2 separate regions of the Homo sapiens genome follow, and region 1 is linked to region 2. The links are contacts of gene promoters, found by promoter capture Hi-C in blood cells and fetal thymus (Javierre and others, 2016). All regions are on one chromosome and are shown on one strand. The core of a region is centred on a gene start or on the middle of the fragment in contact, and the rest is flanking DNA. Distances in the headings are between cores, read along the strand shown.

Region 1 (5,461 bases), core at 767-3,266, 2.5 Mb after region 2:
TTCATATACAACAAAATATAATTCTTCATTTGATTTTCTTTTCAACCACCTGAAAATGTAAAACTATTCTTAACTCTTGGGCTGTACAAAAACAGGTGGCAGACCAGATTCAGCTCACAAAGGATCCCTGTCCTGCAGCAGAGAGGGATGGACTTTAGGATTGGAAATCAGACAGATCAGGTTTGAATCCCAGCTCTGCCAGAGTGGCTTTCTCACTCCGATGCCGGGCAGAGGTTCCCAACAAAAGAGGTTGTTTGTTGATGATTAACAGGGTCAGTGTAAGAATTAAATGAAATGGAAGATGCTAAAGCTCCTGGCACAGGGGATGTTCAGTCCTTACTCAGGGTCTCTTGGTCTGAAGTCCCCAGAGATAATTATCTCTACCTTAAGCTGTAAACACAGCATCTATTCATCAACATTTGTTATATTATTAATTAACTTGTTATCCCATGGGGGATACTGAAACAATGAAAAGTCTCCATCATCCTAGCCCTCCCTAAGATGGCAGGAAGAAGCTCGGAGGGGAAAGACCAAGAGCCAGAGGTAAATCAGCTCTCCAGATTCTGCCAAGACCAAGGTAAACCAAAGTGCCACCACCAGGAGAAAGCACAGCCTTCACCCTCTAACACATGACGCTAACAGGATCTACTGCCTTAAAGATATTGGGGGCATTAAGAGTCTATGGGAACTCTGGTACTGGGAACACAGTGCCTGGCCCTTGGCAGAAGTGCTGCCTCTGTCACCACCATGCATCTCTGAAGACCTGGGAAAGCGCCCTCATCAGTGTCCCCAAGCACTGAGCAGATGGGTGGCAGGAAGGGAGTGGTGTGACTGAATTCTTCAGAAGCATATTCCTGTACCAGATTCTGAGCAACAAGAAAACCTTGGTAAATGTACACTATTTGGGTGATGGTTACACTAAAAGCCCAGACTTCACCACTACACAACATATCCATGTAACTAAACTGTACTTTTGCCCCCTTCATCTATAAAAATTAGATAGTTTTTTTTTAAAGAAAATCCTGAAAGCCTTTTTCTGGTCCCAGGGGAACTCTTGCCCAGGCTGCTGTGCTGCTGCTGCTAACTAAGCTCCCAGAACGCTGCCGCTGGCAGTGTCTCCACCGGGAAATTGCTGAGGCCTGCTGAGCGGCTGAGGTCAAGGGTCTTTGGCCATGTATCAGCTCTGCTCCGACTTGCCGCCTCCTGGAAATTGACACCTGACTATGCAAAGTAGTTGAAATAGTCTTTGCAGAGCAAAGAAGCCGTCAGCGTTTTTCCGTGCTGAGCCTTCAAACTGTCAGATCCAATGGGGCTAAAAGAACAGGGGTGGGTAGTAATAGTAACATTAATAGACAGCATTTAAACAGTTTTTACCAGGCGTCAGGTAATTTATGTGCAACGACACCAATTATCTCATCTAATCGTCCCAACTCTCACTGTCAGAATCTCCGTTGTACAAATGGGGAAACCGAGGTCCTACGGCGTTAGGTAATCAATACGCGGTCTCATGACTAGTAACCGGGACTGGGCTGTCTCATTCTAGAGCCTTCCTTCTACACTCTCTCTCCGTCCTCTCACCCCTGCTCCCGTTCCTCCCCTTTGGAATTCTCTCCCGAGTCACGCCGGACTTTTTGGGTCTGGCGGAGGCCCACGGAGCACCTCCTTGCACAGCAAAGGCCCAGCGCCCTGGGACTGGCGTGCGCACGCACTCGGAAACAGGAATAGACGCGTAGACCTGTGCGCGCACGTGCAAGCAACACGAGTCAGGGGGTGCACAGGGGCCCCCACCTTCCTCTAGACTGCCCCCCGCCGGGTTCCACACGAAAGCCCCCGGCCACCCCCGCGGAGACCCAGCAGCCCCAGCCCGCAGCATTACCCAGTTGCGGGCCCGAAAAGCCTGCACGCATCGAGAACCCAGAGCGCCCCTGCCGCCGTACACCAGCACCCGGCGCGCCTCGCCTGCAGCCGCCGCCGCCGCCATCCTGCTCCTGCCAGCCCGGCTCCCGCAGCTCCGAATGCCTCGAGCCGGAGCGCCGCGCCCCGCCCCGGCCGGCCAACCCCGCCAAGAGGGAACGCGCGGCGGCCGCGCCCCGCTCCGCGCCCGCTGCTGCCGCCTAGCGCGCTGCCACGCTCGGGGCGCCCCGCCACCCGGAGGGACTGTAACTTCGGCCAGGCCCTGCCCCTGGGACGGGGACATCGGCGAAGCCCCTCCTCCCACCCGCCAGCAAGTGCTGGGCCTCGGGGCGTGCAGCGAGCCGGGCTAAGGGCGAGGAGGGTGGAGAGCGGGTGTTTTACGAGCATTAATTTGTGAAGTGTAAGCATGTAAAATATAGTATAGTACAATTTTCGACCACTGTTTTGGCAATTTTTTATTTTTAATTGTGCATCAAAATAGAGATTTAAGTATTCCCACCTGCCAAAAAAACAGAAGAGGTCGCTCCGCTCAAGGAGCTGAAAGTCCACCGCCGAGACGAGACAAACCACACTAGGTCTTATTTCTTCTATCTAACCGTAAATTTATACCCATTAATCCAAATGGCCCTTTTACTATATGCCACCCATCGCCAGACACAGATCCTGGCATTTTCTCCCTTGTATATTAGTTATTTCTGCCCATGGCCTGTATCTTTAACACAGAGCCTCTCATCTACAGCACTACTGACATTTTGGGCCAGATAATTATTTGTGACAGGTGCTGCCCTGGGTACTGTAGGATATTTACAGCATCCCTGGCCTGCATATACTAGAAATCAATAGCAAACCCCTACCCCTCACTCATAAGAATCAAAAATATCTCCAGATTTAACAGTTGTCTCCTAGGGGCAAATTCATCACTGATAGAGAACCAGAGCTCTAACACTCTCATAACCTTCTTGATAGCAGAACCCTGTATTACATACATCTTTGTGTCACTTCCCATCCACATATAACCTTGTACACAGCAGACACAGATGTTTGTTCAGTAAACTTGTGCCAGGTAAAGCATGCAGAAATATGTCACTAGAGAAGAGGATGCAGCCAGCAGCACATTTTGTTGTCAGAAGCTTCATTATCAGAAATAGAACTGCTAGGAGGCTGGATGGAGAGGAGAGCACCATCTATTTAGTGCTCCTTATATCCAAGGCACTGCGCTAAGTGATCTGCCTGTGCTATTTCACTTTACTCCACACGATAATCCTATGCAGATTAGAAAGCTGAGGCATGAGAGTCACAGACACTTGTCTGGAAGAGTGGGAATTTGAACACAGGTCTTCAATAGCTAGAGTTCCACTTAACCACACCTTTGTTCAGCAAGACAAAGGCTTGTTGGGAATCAAGTGTTTCCCTTAGAGTTTTTCTGAAAACAATTGCTTAACCCTCAAAACACCAAAAGTTGACACAGGTCCCTCACTGACGGCAGAAATATGACTCAATGATATTTACGCAAGTCCTGACTTGTCAAAGCATGCTTAATGTTAAAATAAGAACGTGAACTAACATTATTGATCACTTAATGTGCCAAGCAGTCTTCTGAGCCTTTTATATGTATTCTGTTATTTTTTACCAGAAAAACATTTGCTGTTTCAAAGTCACTGGGATGAAGATGAGCTGTTGTAATTCAAAGACCTGAATTTCAGCCCCAGCACTGACATCCAGTTTTTCATGAGAGAAATGGCTGAAATCGTGCATCTCCTGTTTACCTTAAAGGGTTGCTGGAGCATCAGAGGTGAGCAAGCATATGGTCAAAGCATTTTGCATTTTGTACATGGTAAAGTGCCACTCATCTGTATATATAGTAAGAGACAGGATCTCACTCTGTTACTCAGAGTGGCATGATCATAGCTCACTACAGCCTTGAGCTCCTGGGCTGGAGCAGTCTTCCAGCCTCAGCCTCCAGTAGCTGGGACTACAAATACACGCCATCAGGCCCAACTATTTTTTTTTTTTATTTTTTGTAGAGATAAGGTCTCACTACATTGCCCAGGCTCAGAAATTCTCATTTTTATTTTCATTGTGGAGTGGCCACTGAAGTGAGCCCCAGTTGCGAGGAAGGAAACTGACATTTCCATTAATGTGTCCCTCTGCTTCCTTGACACTCTCCAAGTGAGATTCCTGGGACCCCTATTGGTTAACAGTGCAACTTCCTGAACCCCCCTTCAGGCTTCTGTGACCAACTAAGAAATTTTACTGCTCCACTTTTGCCCAACTTTGCTCCCCAGAGATATGGATAGAGTGACTGTTGCCAGTCTCACATGATGTTAAGTTGATATTCAGGAATAAGGTAAAAGTCAAAATGTCAAAGTCCACAGTATAAGATAGAAAGGAAAGAATATTTCATTCCTAGTATCTACAGATTAAAAGGAAAGCCTAGATCTTCCACTATTAGAAGAGATGAATACCCCAGCAGTGTGGCTACTATTTGCTAATACACTAGAAAAACACTTTTCTCTCCCATTTCAGATAACGTAGAAGGAGGGACGGGTGAGAGCAATGTTAAGTGTTGGATTCCAGGCTACCCCAACAGCCACAAAGTAATTCTAGTCACAGTTTACCCCCAGCAGATTCACACAGTGAGAAATTCATAAGGCCCTATTTACACATTTCAATATTAAAGCCCCAAGAACCGGGGTCATTTGATGGTATTAATAACAGTCCTAAAGATTCTGACAGCAGTGACATTTCAGAGAAAGAAATGCCAGGGCACCCATGCATCAGCGAGATCGACATTTGATACTGCGCATTGTTGGCAATATTCAAGTGCTAATCATTCTGTTTTTGTTTTCCTTCTAACACATGCATTTTTTGAGATTGGTTTGCGTCTCTTAATCTTCAGAGCTACCTGATTTTGCTTATTACTAACTCCTTTATCATTACGAGGTCCACACCAGGGCTATTTAAATACTTGAAACGAGGAACAGTTAAACAGTCTGCTGAAACATTAGTCTAGGAGGAGATATAAGGTTACTTCCTTCAGTAACACACTCCGCTACATAGTCAGGTGAAGATTGTCTCTGTAGAGGCTTCTGGATGTGGTTGTAGGAAGCATGGACTGTGCAAGCTTGCGCTGAAGGAGGACGAGAGGATGGACCTACAACCTTGAAACAGAGTGTTTGGAAGAGCTGACCTTGGAGCAGAGCATTGCCGAGTATCTGAAAGATGTCAATGACCCTCGCTGCTGCTCGGAGACCTTGGGGATGACCTGCACCCACTAGCATGCCTGGATGGTTCAAAAAGGCGTGGTATGGGCTGGCGTCTTTACTCAGCTTCTCCTCCTTCATCCTGATCATCGTTGCCCTGGTAGTGCCCCACTGGCTGAGTGGGAAAATCCTTTGTCAGACTGGAGTGGATCTGGTCAACGCCACAGACAGAGAGCTGGTCAAGTTCATTGGGGACATTTACTACGGGCTCTTCCGAGGGTGTAAAGTGCGGCAGTGTGGGCTTGGGGGCCGCCAATCCCAATTCACGAGTGAGTATATTGGGA
Region 2 (5,413 bases), core at 2,049-4,548:
AATATAAGGTCAAAAGGTTTTGGCTTTACTTTTCAAAGGTGAGAACTAGTAAAGCAAGTTTTTGTGCACATGGAAGTGTTTCCTGGAGAGGAAAGAGGTCATGATGAAGGACAGAGAGAGAAAACTGTTGGAGCCCATGTCTTGAGTAGGTTAGAGGTAGGATCTGCTCCGCCAGTGGAGAGGCTGGCCTTAGACAGGAGTATGGGCAGATGGGCCATCCATTGTATCGAGAGGGAAGGCAAGGTGTGCAGGGACAGATGCAGGGAGACTGTGGAAGTTTTCCTGTGGTTGCTTCTTTTTTCTCAGTGAAATAAGCATGTAGCTCAGCAGCTGAGAGTGCTACATGCTAGCAGATGCATGTAGGAGAGATGTGACAAGAGGTTTTCAGATTGAGCAGAATGTTTGAAATGGTCTAGGACAGTGGTTTTTCAGTTCATAATCTGATAGAGGGTGTTAAAACCAACTTTGTAATTTGAGATCAAACGTGATTTTAAAATGAAAATAGAATTATAAAAAGGAGTTTGTTGCATTATTAAAAGAATTGCTTAATAGCAGCTTTATTTCAGTTGCATGAGTGTGTACTTGCACATATATTGGGTTGTAGCAAAAATACTTTTAAAAATACTTGCCCAGGACAGTGGGAGTAAATGAATAAGGGACTGTCAAATACAAAGTCAAGGTCCTAGTTAATGATCATGAGTCAAAATATTTTCATGTAAAAAACCAAAAAAATCATTGAATGGACTCATAAGATCTTGGCATGGAAACTGCTAGAGGACCATAGTCCCTCCTCAGTATTTGCTGCTCCTTCTCCCTACCCCACTCCACTCTCCACCCTAGGAAACCTTTTCATTTGAATATTTTCAATAAGGGCAAGATCACCAGCTTACAAGATGTCAGAAAGTAACTTTCTGCTCTAAAAAAATGGGGCCCTCACAAAAGTAGTGAGTAGAGGCCCTGGCAGGATTTGGAATTTGGTGTATTTAATATGAAGTTTGACATTATTATGTAATAACAAACTTGATGGCTTTTCCCCGTTTCAGAGAGCTCTAAATCCTCTAAGACAAAACTAGTACCAGAGCACTAAGAAATCTTGTTTTTGTTCAAAACTCTAGCCCAGAAAGGCACCAGTTAGCTTTTAAAAGTATGTGCTCTCTCCTCTTTACTAACTGCGGTGTTAGTGGATAATTGAGCTAAGGTTTATACCTGTATTTTCCCCCTATTTCAAGATTTGTTGTTGGATCTGCAAATGATTCCAATCAAATACAACTGTACTTGGAAAAAAATCATCCGTTGTTAAGACTTTACATTCCTTAGTTGCAGAAGTAGTTTTTTTTCCTGCACAATACCTTTTAAAAAATGAATATTTAATATGTCAATATATACTCTGAAAATAACCATTTATATTTTAAATTCTGAGCTCAGGTTATTTTCTAGACATTGTAATTTAGAATAAAAATACTTCTCCAGTTCTACATTTTGCCTGACTGTTAAAAATGATTTTGAGATTAATAAGTTGAACCAATTTTCTATTCACCTGACCAAATTCTGAACCATTTGAGTTTTTTAAAAAGTACTTTTTCCTTATTGTAAAGGCAACATAAAACTTGGTTCATTGGACAGGATAGCAGAGATAAACATTATACATGAAGTATAGTTCCCTGGGGCAATGTTGCTCTCTTTCTACCATGTTTATTTCGATTTATATAAATTTGAGACACTGAACAGAAGTAGAATTCAAATAGAGAATGAGGACTTATAAAAATGTACACTCTGCCTACATCAGTAAGAGTATGCTAATTTATAAAATTAAATATTTAATCTTAGTTCACTTGTAAACCAAAATCAAGTAAAGTCTGAATCCACCTTCTATTGCTTTGGGGGTTTGAGTCTATATTCTAGGATTCATTTAATAGTTTCATTTCTCTAAGCATCAAGCAAAACAGTTAAAATTACAAAACAGAAACATAAAGTTCACCTCATCATGTAGTATGGATCACTCTGTTATTCTTTATCTAGACCTTCAAATACTTTATGTAAAATGTTTCTATACAAAAGGAAACACAGGATTAGTTCCTCCTCTAATGCTTCTAAAGAGCTCTACCATGGAAAGCTCTCTCCCTTCCATTTTGCAAGTCTCAACAAGTCTGCTGCTGAGTCAGAACCTCCTTTTTTCCCTGATGTAAGAACTATTTCTCCCTTGAAAATTCATAAAGCTTAGGAATAAATTAGAGTCTCCCTGGGGGGAAGGGGCGGGGACGCCGGAATGAATGTGGTGGGGAGGAGTCCCACGCTGCAGCCCTGATGGCACACGAAAGGCTTTTATGAAGCGGAGCTGGCCCGGGGTTACTATGGGAGCTCGCCGTGGAACCCGTTCCACGCATCCGAGTGTGTAAATAACCACGCGGAGCGTGTTTGTTCCAGGGACTTTGTTCCTTCTTACCCAAGTGAAAATGCCTGGAATATAGCCGAGGCTTCATGTTTACCCTACAGAAACACCCTCGGCGGCTCTACGACGTCGGTGACAGCACTCCTACCAGCGCCTAAAAACAGAAACAAGCTTAGAGGGCGCTACCTAGGGCTACAAGGAGGCCCTAGATCGGGGACTCGGGGTCTAGAGGTGCGCGGCGAGGCGCTCAGCGGACTTCAAGCCGGCAGAGCCCAGACGCTAGTTCACCACAGGACCCCCGGGCTGGGCCGGGCTCCCGCGTTGCGCTGGGGGCCCCTCGGGCGCCTATTTCTACGCGGGTCGCACAGTGCAGGCGCCGGTCGGGGTCCCGGGCCTCAGTTTCCCCCGCGGGCCAGCCCCGCTCTGGGAAGCCCGAGTGGTGCAGCAGGGCTTCTCCCCACCCAGGGCGGAACCGAGGTGACAGGAAGGAGGAGGCACCGCGAGGGGCGGAGACGCGTGCGACCCAGGCAGACTCTGCGCGGATCCCGCGCCAAGGAGGGGCCGTTGCCCAGGAACCGTCCCTCCCTCCCGCGCGTGCTTGCCCTCGTGCGCGCGCCCGCCCAATGCTCCCGACCACTGTTTGCCAGCCGACCCCCACCCCAACCGGCCTGTCCATTTCCCCGGGAGCGGAGAGACCCAACGGGACACGCCGCTCGCTCCCGCCCTCCCGGGAGCGCGAGCGCGCCCTCGGCTGCGTCTGCATAGTAATGAGGGGCGGGGAGGGGCGACGGGGACGCGGTGGCCTCGCGCCCGCGCGTGCCGGGACGCACCGCGGGGGGCGGCGCGATTGTGAGGTGGCGCTGACGCACGTTCCGGGGTTCTTAAGCGGCCAGGGCGGCTACGGCGACTGCGACGGCGGCGGCGGCGGCGATCGCCGCGAGGGGTGGTGGGGCCGAAGTCGGTGCCCCCTGGCTCAGTCACGGTGTCCCTCTCTCACTGACTCCCCCTCCTTCCACCACGGCCGCGCAACCCCAGCGCCGGCGGCTTCCTAGGTGGGGCAGGGGACGAGGAGCGTCTCCTCCCGCTGCCGGCGGCCTGATAAATGAGGGATTTCGGGTTTGGGGTGCTGCAGACCGCCCCGCTCCGAAGTAGCAGTCCTGGGCCCCTGTTCTGCGGCGAGGCGTATGGTCCTTACGCCGTGGGGTCCGTCAACCCGCTGCCCTCCGCCACGCCCTTCGGCCCACTGTCGCCACCACCGTTGCCTGTCACCGGCTTCTTAGAGGCCGCCTCCCCCTTCTCCGTCCCCCTCGGCGGCGGCGCGGGCAGCCCGGCCGCCGCCGCTTCCTCTTCCTCCCCGTTCCTGGCGCATCAGCAGACCATGCAGGATGAGCTGCTTCTGGGGCTGACACAGCAGCCGGCGCGGCCGCTTTCGGGGGCGGCGGCCACGGAGAAACTCCCCGACCACCACCCCGGCGGCGGCACGATCGCGGGTGTGACCCACCTCCTCCCCTCCCAGGACTTCAAACCGAGTCTGCACCACCCCTCCTCCTCCTCCGCCTCCTCCTGCTGCTGCTGCCGCACCTCCTCCCCGCAGGACTTCAGTAAGCGGCAGCAGCAGCAGCTGAGCAGCCAGAAGAGGAAAGAGTTCAGCCCTCCCCACCTTCCCCACCCTCCGGACTCGAAGCCGCCGCCGCCGCCTCCGCCGCTCCACTGCCCCGGTCGGTTCAGCCCGCCGCCGCCGCCAGCCGGCCCGCTCCTCCAGCCGGCGCAGCTCGCTCAGCGCCAGCAGCAACAGCCGCCGCAGCAGTTCAGCCTCCTGCATCAGCAGCACCTCTCGCCGCAGGACTTCGCCCCGCGGCAGCGTCCGGCAGACCTGCCCCCGCTCCCGCAGCTCCCTCCCTCGCCGCCTGCAGCCCCGCGGCGCCGCCACGGAGGCGCGGGCAGCCCTCGCAAGACCCCAGCCGCGGGCGAGGGCAGCGCCGCCGAGTCCCCCAATGCGGGCTTGGCCTCCTCGACGCCGGTGAACCCCGCGCCGGGCTCCATGGAGTCCCCCAACCACCCTCTGCTCAACAGTCCCAGTAACCTCCTGCCCGGAGGTGCGCTTGGCGCGGGCGCCTTCAGCAGCCTGCAGAGCCCGGACCTTCCACACCCGGGCGGCGGCGGCGGCGGCGGGGGCGGGGGGCCCCCAGGAGGCGGAGGGGGAGGCGGCTCCGCGTCGCCGCCGCCGCTGCCCGGCTTCGGCACCCCCTGGTCGGTGCAGACCGCGTCGCCGCCACCCCAGCCCCAGCAGCCGCCGCCGACCCAGCCGCAGCAGCAGCCGCCGCCACCCCAGCAGCCGCCCCAGCCGCAGCCGCAGCCGCCCGGCTCGTCTGCCACCACCCCGGGCGGCGGCAGCGGCGGCTCGCTCAGCGCCATGCCGCCGCCCAGCCCCGACTCAGAGAACGGCTTCTACCCCGGGCTGCCGTCGTCCATGAACCCGGCCTTCTTCCCTAGCTTCTCGCCCGTGTCGCCGCACGGCTGCACTGGGCTCAGCGTTCCGACGAGCGGCGGCGGCGGCGGCGGCTTCGGCGGCCCCTTCTCGGCTACCGCTGTGCCCCCTCCGCCGCCGCCCGCCATGAATATACCTCAACAGCAGCCCCCGCCGCCCGCGGCGCCGCAGCAGCCGCAGAGCCGGAGGTCGCCCGTCAGCCCGCAGCTCCAGCAGCAGCACCAGGCGGCGGCCGCCGCCTTCCTGCAGCAGAGGAACTCCTATAACCACCACCAGGTACGGCGGGCGGCGGCCTGGCCGCGCCGCGGGACCGGGAGACCATGGGCGGGGGACGGAGGCGGGGGCAGGGCAGCCGGGGACCCGACCTTAGCCCCGAGAGAAGCCGCGACGGGGGCCACTCGCCCAAGTGAGAGTGGAACTGAGGGCGGACAACCGTGACAGGACTCGGAACCCCAGCCCCCGGTGGGTTGGGAGGGCAGTGGCCACCGTGGGCTGTGGGGGCGTGGGAGACGAGTTCGCGCTGGGAGCCGCGGCTG

Evidence for each region. The method cuts DNA at HindIII sites, captures the fragments that hold promoters and counts their contacts. A CHiCAGO score of 5 or more calls a contact.
Region 1: the fragment with the promoter of QDPR here is called in contact with the fragment with the promoter of CPEB2 in region 2 in 2 of 17 cell types (non-activated CD4 T cells and naive CD8 T cells); the score reaches 5.9 in non-activated CD4 T cells.

Annotation. Positions count from the first base shown.
Region 1 is chr4:17,510,074-17,515,534 of GRCh38, forward strand. QDPR (quinoid dihydropteridine reductase) reads right to left here and starts at 2,017. Exons shown (of 7, transcript NM_000320.3): 1 at 1,877-2,017. The coding sequence starts at 1,981. It overlaps CLRN2 (clarin 2), which reads left to right and starts at 5,092. Exons shown (of 3, transcript NM_001079827.2): 1 at 5,092-5,446. The coding sequence starts at 5,194. RefSeq lists a silencer at 1,646-2,225. The HindIII fragment of the contact is 4,464 bases long and covers 1-3,042 here.
Region 2 is chr4:14,999,183-15,004,595 of GRCh38, forward strand. It overlaps CPEB2 (cytoplasmic polyadenylation element binding protein 2), which reads left to right and starts at 3,299. Exons shown (of 12, transcript NM_001177382.2): 1 at 3,299-5,153. The coding sequence starts at 3,492. It overlaps CPEB2-DT (CPEB2 divergent transcript), which reads right to left and starts at 2,863. Exons shown (of 8, transcript NR_038857.1): 1 at 2,756-2,863; 2 at 2,444-2,543; 3 at 1,979-2,047. RefSeq lists enhancers at 2,288-2,337, 5,179-5,413 and silencers at 2,578-3,437, 3,938-4,247, 4,298-4,447, 4,548-4,757, 5,138-5,413. The HindIII fragment of the contact is 6,054 bases long and covers 2,559-5,413 here.